Linked DNA regions of Homo sapiens: region 1 is linked to region 2. The links are contacts of gene promoters, found by promoter capture Hi-C in blood cells and fetal thymus (Javierre and others, 2016). All regions are on one chromosome and are shown on one strand. The core of a region is centred on a gene start or on the middle of the fragment in contact, and the rest is flanking DNA. Distances in the headings are between cores, read along the strand shown. Region 1 overlaps CD86 (CD86 molecule). Region 2 holds the start of SLC15A2 (solute carrier family 15 member 2).

The links. The method cuts DNA at HindIII sites, captures the fragments that hold promoters and counts their contacts. A CHiCAGO score of 5 or more calls a contact.
Region 1: a contact is called between a fragment that was not itself captured here and the fragment with the promoter of SLC15A2 in region 2, in 2 of 17 cell types (monocytes and total B cells). The highest score is 6.4, in monocytes.

The regions. Positions count from the first base shown.
Region 1 is chr3:122,119,016-122,124,817 of GRCh38, forward strand. CD86 (CD86 molecule) reads left to right here. Exons shown (of 7, transcript NM_175862.5): 7 at 423-2,121. The coding sequence ends at 519. Among named protein-coding and RNA genes, the nearest start is that of CASR, 62 kb to the right of the region's middle. The HindIII fragment of the contact is 3,590 bases long and covers 2,476-5,802 here.
Region 2 is chr3:121,892,383-121,898,676 of GRCh38, forward strand. SLC15A2 (solute carrier family 15 member 2) reads left to right here and starts at 2,019. Exons shown (of 22, transcript NM_021082.4): 1 at 2,019-2,199; 2 at 4,024-4,111; 3 at 5,006-5,147. The coding sequence starts at 2,095. RefSeq lists enhancers at 445-978, 979-1,511. The HindIII fragment of the contact is 13,918 bases long and covers 1-2,353 here.

The DNA.
Region 1 (5,802 bases), core at 3,021-5,520, 230 kb after region 2:
CAGGGTGCAGAGACAACCGAGAGTACCCAGCACTAATCCAGATATACCAGCCACTGTGATTCTAGCAACAAAACTAATAATTCCGGGCACCCTTGGACAATGAGAAAGGGTGCTGAAATCCTGCCTACCCTGTCACACTCAGTTTCAGAAATGGTCTGGAAGAGCCTGCAGAGGGCAGGCAGCAGAGAACCGGCAGAGGGCATGGGAAGGGCCAGGCAGAAATAAAGGGTAGCTCTTGAAGCATAGATGACAGTGTAGACCGTGGTTCTTTTCTCTTGCTTTCTCCACCTTTCTCTTCAATAGTTTGTTTCTCCTCATTGCTGTTCCAATGGCAACCTCTATTCTGCCCTATCATTGAAATCTAGAAAAAGAAAGTAGCTCAAATGTGAAATATCACCTAATCTTTTCTTCTATTTCTCCAGAGAAAAAATCCATATACCTGAAAGATCTGATGAAGCCCAGCGTGTTTTTAAAAGTTCGAAGACATCTTCATGCGACAAAAGTGATACATGTTTTTAATTAAAGAGTAAAGCCCATACAAGTATTCATTTTTTCTACCCTTTCCTTTGTAAGTTCCTGGGCAACCTTTTTGATTTCTTCCAGAAGGCAAAAAGACATTACCATGAGTAATAAGGGGGCTCCAGGACTCCCTCTAAGTGGAATAGCCTCCCTGTAACTCCAGCTCTGCTCCGTATGCCAAGAGGAGACTTTAATTCTCTTACTGCTTCTTTTCACTTCAGAGCACACTTATGGGCCAAGCCCAGCTTAATGGCTCATGACCTGGAAATAAAATTTAGGACCAATACCTCCTCCAGATCAGATTCTTCTCTTAATTTCATAGATTGTGTTTTTTTTTTAAATAGACCTCTCAATTTCTGGAAAACTGCCTTTTATCTGCCCAGAATTCTAAGCTGGTGCCCCACTGAATTTTGTGTGTACCTGTGACTAAACAACTACCTCCTCAGTCTGGGTGGGACTTATGTATTTATGACCTTATAGTGTTAATATCTTGAAACATAGAGATCTATGTACTGTAATAGTGTGATTACTATGCTCTAGAGAAAAGTCTACCCCTGCTAAGGAGTTCTCATCCCTCTGTCAGGGTCAGTAAGGAAAACGGTGGCCTAGGGTACAGGCAACAATGAGCAGACCAACCTAAATTTGGGGAAATTAGGAGAGGCAGAGATAGAACCTGGAGCCACTTCTATCTGGGCTGTTGCTAATATTGAGGAGGCTTGCCCCACCCAACAAGCCATAGTGGAGAGAACTGAATAAACAGGAAAATGCCAGAGCTTGTGAACCCTGTTTCTCTTGAAGAACTGACTAGTGAGATGGCCTGGGGAAGCTGTGAAAGAACCAAAAGAGATCACAATACTCAAAAGAGAGAGAGAGAGAAAAAAGAGAGATCTTGATCCACAGAAATACATGAAATGTCTGGTCTGTCCACCCCATCAACAAGTCTTGAAACAAGCAACAGATGGATAGTCTGTCCAAATGGACATAAGACAGACAGCAGTTTCCCTGGTGGTCAGGGAGGGGTTTTGGTGATACCCAAGTTATTGGGATGTCATCTTCCTGGAAGCAGAGCTGGGGAGGGAGAGCCATCACCTTGATAATGGGATGAATGGAAGGAGGCTTAGGACTTTCCACTCCTGGCTGAGAGAGGAAGAGCTGCAACGGAATTAGGAAGACCAAGACACAGATCACCCGGGGCTTACTTAGCCTACAGATGTCCTACGGGAACGTGGGCTGGCCCAGCATAGGGCTAGCAAATTTGAGTTGGATGATTGTTTTTGCTCAAGGCAACCAGAGGAAACTTGCATACAGAGACAGATATACTGGGAGAAATGACTTTGAAAACCTGGCTCTAAGGTGGGATCACTAAGGGATGGGGCAGTCTCTGCCCAAACATAAAGAGAACTCTGGGGAGCCTGAGCCACAAAAATGTTCCTTTATTTTATGTAAACCCTCAAGGGTTATAGACTGCCATGCTAGACAAGCTTGTCCATGTAATATTCCCATGTTTTTACCCTGCCCCTGCCTTGATTAGACTCCTAGCACCTGGCTAGTTTCTAACATGTTTTGTGCAGCACAGTTTTTAATAAATGCTTGTTACATTCATTTAAAAGTCTACATTTTCTGCTTTGGCTTCAAGAGTACTACTCAACCCTTGTGGTCTGATGTTCCCTGCTCTGTCCTCTGAATGTACTTCCTTTCTCTTTACATCTCTATGGCTAGAAGCCTCTCACGCATCCTGTATCTTCTCCTCCTCCCTTTTCCCTACCATTATTTGAGAAAGGAGGCTTGTATACTTCTATATGTTTATCTCAGTAATAAGTCATAAAAAATCAAGTAAGAATGGTTGTTTTTGAGGACAACTAAGAAATCTGGAATAAGGAAGGGAAGCTTACTTTTGAGTTTGTAACCTGTAGTGTGTAATTTTTTAATTATGTACTTACATGTACATTAAACAAAAGCTTAATGTAAAAATATTCCTTGAAAACACCATGATTATAAAATAAATGCATATATACACATACAGCATGTGAGAGGAGCCAGGAAAACTCTGGAAAAAAGAAAATTACCTAGACTCTGTGAGGGCAGGAATGTGTTTAATTTCTCTCCAATGGATCCTCAGACAACTAAGATAGTTGTCTATTCTATTGTCCATCTTTTTGTCTTTTGTTGTATTTCTTAAAGATTCCCTCAACTTTATCTTCTAACTTCTGTTGTATTTTTATTTCTGCTATCATGTATTCTTTTCAGAATTCTTTTTTGTTCTCTCAAAACATATCTGTTTAAAGATTGAATGAAATATTAACATGCCCTTTGGTGAGAACATCCCTCCTTTGTATATTAAATTCTCTGAACTGCTGTATTCTAAGACTAGGGGAAAGAAAAAGAAGGTTGAAAGAGGTCATTAGGCAGAATAGTACTAGCTAACATTATTTCACATTTACCATATACCCGTCACTCATCTAAACCTTTAAACTCATTATCCTATTTAATCCTCACAATGACCCTGTGACGTAGGTAATGGAATATTATGCCCATTATGCTGATGAGAAAATATAAACACAGAGATAAGTCAGAGTAATTTACCCAACATTGTTAACTTTGTAAGTGGCAGAGCTTTGTAACAGGCAGAGGTTGGAACAGTTTGGAGGGCTCAGAAGAAGACAGGAAGATGTAGGAAAGTTTGGAACTTCCCAGAGCCTTGTTGAATGGCTTTGACCAAAATGCTGATAGTAATATGGACAATGAAATACAGGCTGAGGTGGTCTCAGATAGAGAAGAGGAACTTGTTGGGAACTGGAATAAAGGTGACTCTTGCTATGTTTTAGCAAAGACACTGGTGGCATTTTGCCCCTGCCCTAGAGATTTGTGGGACTTTGAACTTGAGAGAGATGATTTAGGGTATCTGGTGGAAGAAATTTCTAAGCAGCAAAGCATTCAAGATGTAACTTTCGTGCTGTTAAAAGCATTCAGTTTTATGTATTCCCAAAAATATGGTTTGGAATTGGAACTTATGTTTAAAAGTTTGGAAAATTTGCAGCCTGACAATGTGATAGAAAAGAAAACCCATTTTCTGAGGAGAAATTCAAGCCAGCTGCAGAAATTTGCATAAGTAACAAGGAGCCAAATGTTAATTGCCAAGATAATGGGAAAATGTCTCCAGGCCATGTCAGAACTCTTTACAGCAGCCCTTCTCATCACAGGCCAAGAGGCCTAGGAGGGAAAAACGGTTTCCTGGCCAGGCCCGAGGCCTTGCTGCTTTGTGCAGTTTTGGGACTTGGTGCCCTGCATCCCAGCCATGGCTAAAAGAGGCCAAGATACAGTTCAGGTCATGGCTTCAGAGGGTGCAAGCCCCAAGGCTTGGCAGCTTCAGCACAGTGAACCTGCAGGTGCACACAAGTCAAGAATTGAGGTTTGGGAACATCCCCGTAGATTTCAGAGGATGTATGGGAACACCTGGATGTCCAGGCAGAAGTTTGCTGCAGGGGTAGAGCTCTCATGGAGAACCTCTGCAAGGGCAGTGCAGCAGGGAAATGTGGGGTTGGAGCCCCCACACAGAGTCCCCACTGGGGCACTGCCTAGTGGAGCTATGAGAAGAGGGCCACCATCATCCAGACCCCAGAATTGTAGGTCCACCAACCATGCGCCTGGAAAAGTCACCGACACTCAATGCCAACCCATGAAGGAAGTCAGGAGGGGGCTGTACCCTGCAAAGCCAAAGAGGCCAAGCTGCCCAAGGCCATGGGAGCCCACCTCTTGCATCAGCATGACCTGGATGTGAGAGATGGAGACAAAAGAGAGATCATTTTGGAGCTTTAAGATTTCACTGCCCCACTGGATTTTGGACTTGCATGGGGCCTGTAGCCCCTTTGTTTTGGCAAATTTCTCCCATTTGGAATGGGTATATTTACCCAATGCCTGTACCCCCATTGTATCTAGGAAGTTACTAACTTTCTTTTGATTTTACAGGCTCATAGGCGGAAGGTGCTTGCCTTGTCTCAGATGAGACTTTGGACTTGGGACTTTTGGGTTAATGCTGGAATGAGTTAAGACTTTGGGGGACTGTTGGAAAGGCATGATTGTATTTTGAAATGTAAGGACATGAGATTTGGGAGGAGCCAGGGGTGAAATTATATGGTTTGGCTGTGTCCCCATCCAAATCTCATCTTGAATTGTAGTTCCCATAATCTCCACGTGTTGTGGGAGGGACCCAGTGGGAGGTAATTGAATCATGTGGGCAGTTACCCCCATGCTGCTGTTCTCATGATAGTGAGTGAGTTCTCATGAGATGTGATGGTTTTATAAGAGGCTTTTCTGCCTTTTGCTTGGCATTTCTCCTTCCTATCATCCTGTGAAAGAGGATATGTTTGCTTCCCCTTCCACCATGATTTAAGTTTCCTGAGGCCTCATCAGCCCTGCTGAACTGTGAGTCAATTAAACCTCCTTCCTTTATAAATTAACCAGTCTTGGGTGTGTCTTTATTAGCAGTGTGAGAAGGAACAAATACATTAACCCAGGCTTGAAAGCAAAGAGTCATCTCTGATGACTGCATTCAACCTTTCCCTCAGCACCCACTGCTCACCCCTTCGCTCCTGCCTCATTCTGTTATCAGTCATCACTAGGCCAGGAAAGCATTCCTCCCACTTTCACACCCACCTCTTATTTTCTCATTCAGGACCTTTTTTATTCATACCAAAAACATGTCAGTCACCTCCCAACTGATCCCAGTCTCCTATCTCTCTTACCCTTCATTCTGTCCAACACACCAAGAGAAACAAGAAGGTAAATAGTGAAAAGGTCTCCCTCACATTCCCTTTCCCTAGCCACACAACTCTGATCTCCAGCTTCCTGGGTATCCATTCGTAGTCACAGTATGCCTATTTTTAAGTGTGTGTACACACACATACACATATTCCCCTTACTCAGGCAGATTTGGTTTTACTTTACACTACAGTCTAAAGAAATCAGAATACTCTTGCTAGGATGATTGACATCAGTCTTCAGTGTAATCCTTCATATTAAAAACATACATCTGTATGTATAAGTTTTCATTCTCACCAATATTCTAGCATCATTGTGGATCTTATAATAAAAGTGAGATTCCATTGGATTTTATTATGTCTACCTGTTCACTTCAGAAGAAAAGATACTTACAGATATAGAATCCTTCACTGTCCTTAGTCACAAAGTTTAAAACCTGCTCCAATCTGAACAAGTTACACCCTAGGTCTGGTGAGCAACAGTTACCCTGAAGGGATCTCCCAATTCCTATGTCCATATAGTTGT
Region 2 (6,294 bases), core at 769-3,268:
TGGGTAAAGGTTGGTGGGAGACAGTAGAAATGAGGGGTGTAATAGAAGCTGAGAAGATATGGTCAAAGTCTGAGTTAAAGTTTAGAGAGGAAAAGACAGTTTATCCTGGCCCTATTTGTCAATAAATTATTTGAATAGTTAAAGTAAAAATTTTGTGAGGGATAGAGTTATAGGTTTTCTCTCTTGTATTTTCAAATAAAATAATTCATTCTGATGTTGCCTGACCTTGTTGATTTAGTCTTCATTTTTCTTATTTCTTTTATAGCTCTCTAGCCTTTCTTTTCCCTTTTCTTTTGACAAACAACTAGAGGGGCACCATGCTCTTTTCTTATCCTTTTACTTCTTTGGCTTGACAAAAATAACACAGCATAAAATGCACCTAGCATTATGATGTTTGTTCTTGTTCCTCTTCTGATAAGGACTAAATGTATAATTAAGGAAAATGGTGTTCACAACAGTACCTAGAAAGTAACTGGTTCACAATTTTTGCTCAAATTAAATTTTATTTATTAAATGAAAGAATAGATTAATCTTGAAGTGAGAAAATGAAAATATAAGGAGTGACTTTAGCAAAGAAGAACAATGGTTCCCAAATGTATATCACCAATCCTTTTCTCTCATTTTCTTTAGCCCCACCTCTTTAATTGCTTATAGGCTATTTCTAGCTGAACTTTTATGATGTTGAAAACAAAAGTCTCCTTCCTTCCTTCCTTTCTTTTCTTTTCTTTCTTTCCTTTCTTTCCCTTCTTTTCTTTCTTTCTTTCCTTTCTTTCCCTTCTTTTCTTTCTTTCTTTCAAGTCTTGCTCCGTCGCCCAGGCTGGAGTGCAGTGGTGGGGTCTCGGCTCACTGCAACCTCTGCCTCTTGGGTTCAAACGATTCTCCTGCCTCAGCCTCCTGAGTAGCTGGGACTACAGGCGCGTGCCACCACACCCAGCTAATTTTTGTATTTTTAGTAGAGATGGGGTTTCACTATGTTGGCCAGGCTAATCTTGAACTCCTGAGCTGTGATCAGCCCACCTCGGCCTCCCAAAGTGTTGGGATTACAGGCGTAAGCCTCTGCACCCAGCCAAAACTCACCATCTTTCTTATCTTCCAAACTCAGTTTTATGATGACTTTCCTTCTCCAATGCATTTTAATCCTCTGCATTCCTACATTCCATTTATGTAACCTCCATACCTGAATAATGACTGACACTAACTCCACTTTTCCCAGCTGTCATGGCATAGTGAAAATTCCAGATCTGCCACTTAGTGGACAGGTACTTTGAACAAATTTCTTAACCTCTGGGAACATTACTTTCTATAAAATGGGGATAGTAATATGAATTAGAATAAATATATATGTTATAGATATACAACATAGATGTAATTCATATATATTAACCTTTCAATAGTAGATGTTCAATAAATTACAGCTATTGTTACCCTGAAATCAGTTTTTCTTTTTTTTTTTTTTTGGAAATGGAGTTTCGCTCTTGTTGCCCAGGCTGGAGTGCAATGGTGCAATCTCAGCTCACCGCAACCTCCGCCTCCCAGGTTCAAGTGATTCTTCTGCCTTAGCCTCCTGAGTAGCTGGGATTATAGGCGCCCGCCACCACACCCAGCTAATTTTTTTTTTGTATTTTTAGTAGAGACGGGGTTTCACCATGTGGGCCAGGCTGCTGACCTAAAACGATCCGCCTGCCTGGGCCTTCCAAAGTGCTAGGATTATATGCGTGAACCACCGCGCCTGACCATGGAATCAGTTTTTCAATCTGTGCTCGAGGTGTTGTGTTCTTAACTATCTTCTACTCCTTTGCAAAGATAATCTTTCTTAAACATAGACTTTCTAATCAGTTCTCTAGCATTGTTTCATTCTGTCTTTGGCATGTTTTCACTTTGCTGTGCTGTACTTTTACACATTCTTTTTAACTATAGCTTCCTGCTTTGCTCTGGATCAGGAAGCTATTGAAGCTGACACCCACAGAGTTAAACTGAGTTGCTGAAGCCACCAGCTCCCCCTCCCAGTCCTTCTTTTCAGAGTAGGCTGGCAGCTGTCCTAACTGCCTACTAAAGCCAAATGCTTGAGGAGAGAGAGAGAGTAAGGAGCCAGCCATGAATCCTTTCCAGAAAAATGAGTCCAAGGAAACTCTTTTTTCACCTGTCTCCATTGAAGAGGTACCACCTCGACCACCTAGCCCTCCAAAGAAGCCATCTCCGGTGAGTCCTTAGATTCAATCCTGCCTCTGAGAGGAATGGCCTCCCTCTTTTGGCTCTCTTCCTTGGGCTCTGGAGCTTCCAGCTGAGCTGTATTAGGGTATTAAAATGCTTCTCTCTTGGATTTAGAATTCACCTGAAACCAAATCTAAACAGAAGCTTCCTTTACATAAGAAGACAAAGCAGCAGGAAGAGGTAGTCAAAGTTCTTCAGTTGGGATCCAGGGACTTGCTGAATTTCATTGCATATTCTGTTTCCCTGGGGGAAAAAAGCAATTCGAATGTCCAGGGAAACTTGGCAAGCATTCTTGTCTGAAGAACTGTGTGTGATTGTTCTTTCTTTACCAATATAAAAACTCTGCCCTTAGTTCTCCCTGTGTGCAGAGTCTTCTGCTGAACACCAATGGAAGTTTCAGAATAGATCCAATTTCTGTTACTATGTGTTCCCAGTTTACTGTGGGAGATAGGACAGAGAAACAGAGAATAGTAATGTTTTGCATTTATATACTCGCTAAAGCACTTCTAAACTCATCATCTCAGTCAATTCTTACACTAAAATTCTGTAAGTGGGGAGGATATAGTAATGATAGCCAAAATTTACTGAGTTCTTACAGTGGGCCAAAAGGTGATGTTATTCTCATTTCTTTGGAATAACAGAACAGAGGTTTTGAGACAGGTGTAGTGACAATGCCAGTATCAGTATGTTAACACAGCCAGTGGCAGTGTTGCCTAACTAGCTAACAGTGTGTCGGCTAAACTCCAGATTGCATAATTCTCAAGCTGTGAGCTGCAAAGGTAAGAAGCCCAGTTCATTGTATGTTTCAAACAAGCTATTATAAAACATTAAAATATATTAATATTTAGGAGGATCATTTATATATATCCCTAGGGTTAAAAGAATAATACATTACTTTATTATTTTGCCTATTTTTTTAGTTAATGATATCTCTTCTGGTCCCAAAGAATTTAGGGCTACTTGCAAAGATGTATATACTTCTCATGAAATGAGGCAATATAAATCTTACAAGATTTGACTGTACTGAGGACAGATACCTCTATGTCTCTTCTCATGTTAGTTGGTCTATTGTAATAGATAGGGAATTAAAATAAAACATAACATTCCTTATATTCTGACTGATATATTACATGAAAAGCATAATTCTTTTAATGTCCAGTAGGATTATCATGAAAATGTTATAGAATCTCTTTAGTAGGAAGAGTAGACATTTAATTTTACAGGATTTAAGAACTCTGCCTAAAGTCAAGGTGATCAATTAGCTTACCCTTAGGAATCTCTGTCCTCCATGTTGGGCTCTGTGCCTGACTCCAGCAGCCTCTGAAGTAGAAGCTATCATATTGCCAGGATTCCTCCCAGCATGGCAAACAGAACAGCTGGGGACAAGAGTCCCCATAGTGGGGCTAAGCAGAGACTGACATCTGAATCTCACTGCTTGGATATCAGGTATTCCATAGGCTACCTCTTTATTCTGTTCCTAGGAAGTAAATATCACCATTCTTCTGCCCCAGAGCCCTAGGCTTTTCATTTAGTAGTTGTGGGAAGATGAGCAGGTCCAAGGAATATTTGAGCAAGTCCATGTAAAATAAATAAGAAACAAAATAATATTCAGAGTAGCTTCTATTATTTCTAAATCAGTAATATAAGCACTTTTAGTGTTACCTAATAGGTGTGTCATGAAGAGTAGAGACCATTGCTCCATTACCTACCAAGATGATTTGAAATAAATGAATTTTTCAGTTTTGAAGAAATCTAATTGTTGAAACAGGGAAAAACAGCTCATGCTTGAATCATTGCCTTCTTGTTGAATAGACAATCTGTGGCTCCAACTATCCACTGAGCATTGCCTTCATTGTGGTGAATGAATTCTGCGAGCGCTTTTCCTATTATGGAATGAAAGGTAATTTTGTGTCCAAGAGTCCTACCTACTCTCCTCCACCCACCCTCACCCCATGTTTGTGACAGCCTGGTCTCTTTATATGCACTTATTTCCCGAGTCCACTCTTTCTGCCTTGGTCCAAATTGGTCCTTTACTTTGGCCAAGACTTCCAATAAATCTCTCATAGGATTTCACCTAATATGTAGGCCAAGATCAGAAAGGCCTGAGACAAACCAGAACATAGACTTTGAGAATGGGTAAGTGGGTGGAGCTGGGCATGATGGCATGTGCCTGTAGTCGCCACTACTTGGGAGGCTGAAGCAGGAGGATTGCTTGGGCCCAGGAGTTCAAGGTTATCAGGCACCTGTAATTGTGCCAGTGAATGGCCACTGCACTCCAGCCTGGGCAACATAGCAAGAACTCATCTCCAAAAAAAAAAAAAAAAAAGGGGGGGGAGGGAAAGCTCTCATTATCTCAGTTACATTTTTCATACCTGTTCCTCAGGTATGAGCTAACAGCTCTTGGCTAAGGGCTCATACCTGAGGAACAGGTATGAAGAATGGAATTCAGATAAGAGGTCTTATCATCTTGTTGCTGGGAAGGAGAGGAGAGGGAAGGGATATTGGAAGCACCATGTTATGTTCATGGTTGGCCTAAATGATGCTAGGGGTGCACATAGACTGAAGGGAGGAGTATTATATTTGTACATTCAACATAGTCCCATTCACTCCCACAACTCCCATGGGGCCCTGCTTCTACTGCCTGGCAGTCACTTCTCAGTCATGTCACTGATAGGAGTGCTGAAGGCCAAAATCACATTATAAAGACCAGAGATTAAATATTTTTTTCCATAAGTCACTTTAATGCATCTATCTTGTTTTGTCTCCCCACGCCTCCTTTTTTTTCCCACTACAGCTGTGCTGATCCTGTATTTCCTGTATTTCCTGCACTGGAATGAAGATACCTCCACATCTATATACCATGCCTTCAGCAGCCTCTGTTATTTTACTCCCATCCTGGGAGCAGCCATTGCTGACTCGTGGTTGGGAAAATTCAAGTAAGGAAGATGGGAGGTCACATCCCTACAAGTTTCACAGGTTGTGCAGAAGGCTATCACTTCTAGCCTCTTGCTTCTGAGTAAGAACATACCTATGTCATGCGTGAAAAATAAGAATCTCTGTACATCTGTGTAGTGTGGGAAATTTAAAAAAAAAGAATCTCTGTGGTAACAAGGAAAGGCTATTCTTTTCATTATCAATTTTTCCAATGTGTTTACATCCTCTTCAGTTGCGGTATCTTTTGTTCCTTAAAACTAATTTTAACCTTCCATTCCATAGTTTAATATTAAATCTTGCTCTGATCTTGTTGGAGATAGACAGCACTATCCACCAGCAAATTTCTAATTTTAGCCAGGTGCGGTGGCTCACGCCTGTAATCCCAGCACTTTGGGAGGCCGAGGCGGGCAGATTGCCTGAGGTGAGGAGTTTGAGACTAGCCTGGCTAACATGGTGAAACCCCGTCTCTACTAAAAATACAAAAATTGGCCAGGCATGGTGGCGGGCACCTGTAATCCCAGCTACTTGGGAGGCTGAGGCAGGAGAGTTGCTTGAATATGGGAGGCAGAGGTTGCAGTGAGCCAAGATCATGCCACTGCACTCCAGCCTGGGCAACAGAAAAAGACTCTGTCTCAAAAAAAAAAAAAAATTGAAATTTTGATGCTTTTATGTAGTTATTTGATACTTTCTCCATCTCTTCTCCAGATTGAGTTATCCCACCTCCTTTAGGATCTTCTTATGAGTGTCTCTTTTCAGCTCTTTTACCATCTATTTCTCTTCTCTAATGTCTTTTGTAGTTTCCTTCTTATGAATCTAATATTTTCATGAGTTAGACTATTGGTTCATTCAGTTCAGTATCTTTTAAGTCCCTGAACACAGCACCAAGAGATATAACATGGTATAATGTTATAATTGTCCCCTATAACATTAAACTGATAAGCTTAGAAATGGATCGTGGTTATCCCCTGCCCAATTATTTTCTATGGACCTGTCATCCATAGATTTGTCTAAATGAGCATTTCTCAAAGGGCATTCTGTTCAAAACTATAAAATATAATAAGTTATGTGGGAAAATAAAGCTCTTGTGGTCAAACAAGTTTGGAAACTGTTAGGCTGAGCAAAGCTAAAAATGTTCCCTTACTGCATGAC